Regions from separate parts of the Homo sapiens genome. Here region 1 is linked to region 2. The links are contacts of gene promoters, found by promoter capture Hi-C in human tissues and cell types (Jung and others, 2019). All regions are on one chromosome and are shown on one strand. The core of a region is centred on a gene start or on the middle of the fragment in contact, and the rest is flanking DNA. Distances in the headings are between cores, read along the strand shown. Region 1 overlaps CASR (calcium sensing receptor). Region 2 holds the start of PARP14 (poly(ADP-ribose) polymerase family member 14).

Region 1 (2,700 bases), core at 132-2,631, 390 kb before region 2:
ATTGGTAGAGGCGGGGGGAATAATAGAGATACAGCACCAGCTCCCTGCCTCTAAAATGTGGGCACCTGGGTAACTAGATAGCGCAGGAAGTTAGAACAAATAAAAGCAGCAAACTCTGTGACTGAAGTTTCAGCACATGGATGGCAAATATTTTCAAGTTTGGTGAAAATAGGTAAGAGATCAAAGCCCAAGAATAAACCCTGGGGTCATTACAGGATTTCCTGTAAAGGCATCAGGAAATGTTTTTGGAAGAATGTGATTGTCTTCGTTGATATCAACCCAAAGATGTGGTTATTGTTCAGAATGTCCTGATTTTCTTTAAATGTTTTGTTTCTATCTGACCTCTCATTATAAATGAGAAACTTATAAATTATAAATATACACTCATTATAAATGAAGATTGCTTGGTAATGGACTAATGGATAATTGTTTCTGCTTCTTTAGGATGTTCTAAATTTTTCCCAAGTTTTGTACATTAAGCACAAAATTATAACAGGAAAATAAAGAAAAGAATTTAAAATAAACATGCAACCAAATTTTAAACAGATAAGTATATCATATTAGATAGGAATCACCATACTGGGTCAGTCACCCCTCCTCCAAATTTTTCTTTATTCTTTTTTTTTTATTATACTTTAAGTTTTAGGGTACATGTGCACAACGTGCAGGTTTGTTACATATGTATACATGTGCCATGTTGGTGTGCTGTACCCATTAACTCGTCATTTACCATTAGGTATATCTCCTAATGCTATCCCTCCCCCCTCCCCCCACCCCACAATAGGCCCTGGTGTGTGATGTTCCCCTTCCTGTGTCCATGTGATCTCATTGTTCGATTCCCACCTATGAGTGAGAATACGTGGTGTTTGGTTTTTTGTCCTTGTATTAGTTTGCTGAGAATGATGGTTTCCAGCTTCATCCATGTCCCTACAAAGGACACGAACTCCTCATTTTTTATGGCTGCATAGTATTCCATGGTGTATATGTGCCACATTTTCTTAATCCAGTCTATCGTTGTTGGACATTTGGGTTGGTTCCAAGTCTTTGCTATTGTGAATAGTGCCACAATAAACATATGTGTGCATGTGTCTTTATAGCAGCATGATTTCTAATCCTTTGGGTATATACCCAGTAATGGGATGGCTGGGTCAAATGGTATTTCTAGTTCTAGATCCCTGAGGAATCGCCACACTGACTTCCACAATGGTTGAACTAGTTTACAGTCCCACCAACAGTGTAAAAGTGTTCCTATTTCTCCACATCCTCTCCAGCACCTGTTGTTTCCTGACTTTTTAATGATCGCCATTCTAACTGGTGTGAGATGGTATCTCATTGTGGTTTTGATTTGCATTTCTCTGATGGCCAGTGATGATGAGCATTATAAATGAAGATTGCTTGGTAGTGGACTAATGGATAATTGTTTCTGCTTCTTTAGGATTTTCTAAATTTTTCCCAAGTTTTGTATATTAAGCACAAAATTATAACAGGAAAATAAAGAAAAGAATTTAAAATAAACATGCAACCAAATTTTAAACAGATAAGCATATCATATTAGATAGGAATCACCATATTGGGTCAGTCACCCCTCCTACAAATTTTTCCAGAGCTCTAATTAGCTCCCAAGAGTTTCATGGGACTTTTAAATTTCTGAACGGGCCGAGGACATAGAATAGTGGAAAAGAGGGGGATTCTAGGCAGTATGACAGATAAGTTACACGTCTTTGGATGAGGCACTTAAGCTTTCTTTGTCTCACTTTCCACTATGAAAAGTACATAGGCCAGGCATGGTAGCTCATGCCTGTAATCCCAGCACTTTAGGAGGCCAAGGCAGGAGGATCATTTGAGGTCAGGAGTGTGAGACAAGCCTGGGCAACATGGTGAAACTTCATCTGTACAAAAAATACAAAAAATTAGCTGGGCATGATGGCATGCACCTGTAATCCCAGCTACTTGGGAGGCTGAGGTGGAAGGCTCCCTTGGGTCCAGGAGGCAGAGGTTGCAATGAAGCAAGATGTAGCCACTGCACTCCAGCCTGGGCAACAGAGCCAGACTTTGTCTCAAAAAAAGAAAAGTAGATAGACTATTACCTGCCATAATTACCAACTATGGTTGTTTGCCAAATAAAACAAGTGATTTGAAAGGAACTTCAGGAATATAGGCAAAATATAAATAATTATTAAAACCATGGGTGACTGAAGCTTAGAGAATTTGCTTTTGAAATCTCAGGAAGTACCATGGAATGCAATGATTTCTTCTGTCAGGTTTCTTAGTTGGAGGCAATAGAATTCACTCTAACTAGTTCAAGCAGAAAGGTACTTGTTATATGGTATTAGGAAGCTTATAACATTTTGGGAGGCTCAGTGATCCAAATTTAGTTGCTATACAATCAGGATCAATTCACCCAGGAGAAATACCTAATCCCCCTATGAGGGTGTTCTGGCAAAAGCTTCATAACCTCCCCTGCCTTCCACTTAGCACCAAGACACAGAGAACAGGACACTGGAACCTTCACTGAAGCTGGAGGAACCAAATCCCTCTGCCTGTGCTTGGCCCCACTCACACCAACTTTCCAAGTCTCATATCAGCCACATGCAGAGCCCTGGCTGTCAAGGAGTCTGGAAATGTAGCATTTGTTTCCCAGCCTCTATAGTGGAGGAAGACCTGCTAGAAGAGGGTCAGAGTGGCTACTGAACAAGCCCG
Region 2 (2,702 bases), core at 104-2,603:
TTCACGGTCACATTTCTGCAAAGAGCGTGTTACGCTCTCTGCTTCCACTTCCTTCCCTCCCTTTCAGTCTTCAGTAGCTGCCATCTCCCTCTCCTCCCTCCTCACCAGGAGACTATGCTTGCCGCTCCTCAGCAGTCCAGCAGACACTTCTCTGACCTGAGGTATCGGTAGCACTGGAATGATAATCCCCCCGCCCCCCTCGACTTGCAACACTGCTTTATTTGGGGTCAAGGAAACACACAGCCCCAGCTTCTCTCCCATCACTCGGCCTCCCCTCTTGCAGATGCCACTATTATCCAGCCACTTGCACGGGCCATCCATGGCTGACCATGGAGTCATCCTTGAGCTTCTCCTTCTCTCAAGGCTCACATTCTTCAGCAAGTCCTGCTTTCACTATTAATTGAGAATCCTCGTTTTCTCAGTTCTTCTCTGCCAGCACCCCAGTCTCAGCCACCCTTGTCTCTCACTTAGGACACTATGGTAGCCACTTGGCTGATCTCTCTGCCTCCACTCTAGCCACCACGCAGCAGCCGGAGTGATCCTGTACATGTGAATCACACCGTGGAACCCCACTTCCTAACCCTCCAAGGCTATCCCCTGATATCCTGGGGTTATCAGGTTACATGTCACCGCCCTATAAACCCTCCCTGAGCCGCCACAGCTGGACTAGGAGCCACTCCTCATCTGTTCCAGGAACACAAGTATATTCTTTCCCAGAGCACCTATTGCCCACTGTGTTCACCATAGCTCCGTGAGCTCAGCGAGGGTTCAGTGAGTGAGTGCATGGCGCCTAGTAAATATTCCACAAAAAAAACTGTGAGTGTAATTGTTTCCCCCACATTTCTAGACATGTAGTATTAACAGATCAAGGAACAGAAAGCAAAACAGGGAAAGCAACGTAAAATTCTGATAATCACAATGATTGCTGAAAAAGTCCCCAAATAGGCAGCAAACATTCTAAAGGGGCCACAGTTTGTGAGTCATTTTATTCTTTTGTAAAGGGTCGGCTTGCGGCAAAAATTAAATGATCTTTGCGTTTGGGCAAGGTCTGGTGCCCCAAAGCTGCCGACTTGATCTGCGGTTGGGGCGAGCGGCAGGTAGGGGGCCCGGAGTTAGGAGGGGGTGTGGGAGCCCGTGGAGCACAGGTGAACTGAGGCCGCCTTCCCGGGGCGCCGCTGGCCAGCCCCAAAGGGTTACTTTGGCCTTGGCTGTGGGCCGAATGCGAAGGTGGGGAGGTGGGCGGGGGATGACTCTGCCATTCCTGGGTCCGCTGTGTTAGGCTGAAGGCAAAAGGAAACCAAGGCCTGGGAGTTTTCCAGGAAACGAAAGCGAAAGAGTCAAAGTTAGCGGCCCGGAGTTGGCGCGGCCCCTGCAGTCCGGCGGAGAGCGGAGCTGAGGATGGCTGTGCCCGGCTCCTTCCCGCTGCTGGTCGAGGGCTCCTGGGGCCCCGACCCCCCGAAGAACTTGAACACCAAGTTGCAGATGTACTTCCAGAGCCCGAAGAGGTCGGGAGGCGGCGAGTGTGAGGTCCGCCAGGATCCCAGGAGCCCATCCCGCTTCCTGGTGTTCTTCTACCCGGAGGACGGTGAGGGGCGCGAGGGGTGGGGTGAGGAGGGGGCACCTCTGCCCTCCCTCCAGGGAAATGGCGGCAGGGCACGCACGGGAGGGTGACCCGCCCGACTTCGGCGGCTGCTGTAGCGGAGGTGGCCGGGGCGGGGGCGGGGGCGGGGGCGGCAGAATGGATTCCGAGCGCACCCGGGGCGCTGCGGTTCCCCGGCGCCCTGCGCTTCCAGGCGCTTAATGGCGCGGCCCGGAGGTGGCGGCGGAACCGCGCAAGTAACTCTTTATCCCTCGATCGTTTTCTGTCTTTCCCTGTTGTGGTGGTGTTATTGTTTGTTGTTGTTGTTGTGGAAGTGAGTCTATCCTCTTATCATCCTTTTCTGTCTTTTCCTGTTGTTATTATTCTTGTGTGGGGAAGGAAACTGATTAAGAAACGTGGCAAGTCACAGAGATTCCTTGTGGTTCTTGGAGATTCCCAGGGGTCCCGGGGTCACTTGGGAGAGGGGCAGAGGCGCTACCTAAAATCACACTGCCTGAATGTCAACGTAGAGCCGTCACAGCGGCCACATTGGAGGGGCTGTCGATCGACCACAGGTGCCCATTGTCGAGGGCCTGCCGGGGCCTCTTCTCCGAGTCTCTAGTGGCCCTCAGATTGGGAGCAAGGATGATATTCTGAAGTGATTGTGGGTTGGGAGATTTGAGCTTTGGAGGGAAAGTCGGCAAAGTTCCCTCCTTACAGACCCACCACTACTTGGTGGGCCAAGAGCCCAGAGGTGATCTGCTGGCTCAAGGGCCTCCCTGGTCTGCAATGGGAAGCCAGTGACCTGCAGCTCCCAGAATGGGCACCTTTTCCACTGGCATCTTATGGATGATGACCTATCGGGATCTAGTCAACCCCTAATTCCGCTTTCATGTCGCTAGATTTGGAGAAGCATTCGGGCCAGAGGAGAGGCAAGGAGGCTGAGGCTGAGGCCATGCAATTAGAGTGCCCAAGCAGGGATCCAAAAAGGAAAAATGAAACAGAAAAAGAATGGCGCACAGAAGGAAGGAAGGAGGGGGACAGGAGATATGCTTGGCTCATGGCCCTTATGAAAACAAAATACCATGTTTTCCTAGGATTAATTTTACCAAGGAGTGCTCAG

Evidence for each region. Contacts are between HindIII fragments. The study calls those that stand out against the background at their distance.
Region 1: a fragment that was not itself captured here is called in contact with the fragment with the promoter of PARP14 in region 2 in 1 of the 25 tissues and cell types used here (pancreas).

Annotation. Positions count from the first base shown.
Region 1 is chr3:122,290,115-122,292,814 of GRCh38, forward strand. CASR (calcium sensing receptor) reads left to right here. Exons shown (of 7, transcript NM_000388.4): 7 at 1-1,515. Among named protein-coding and RNA genes, the nearest start is that of CSTA, 34 kb to the right of the region's middle. The HindIII fragment of the contact is 3,234 bases long and covers 1-2,700 here.
Region 2 is chr3:122,679,486-122,682,187 of GRCh38, forward strand. PARP14 (poly(ADP-ribose) polymerase family member 14) reads left to right here and starts at 1,354. Exons shown (of 17, transcript NM_017554.3): 1 at 1,354-1,585. The coding sequence starts at 1,399. RefSeq lists enhancers at 342-461, 865-1,637, 1,062-1,461, 2,003-2,092 and a silencer at 1,702-1,751. The HindIII fragment of the contact is 18,937 bases long and covers 1-2,702 here.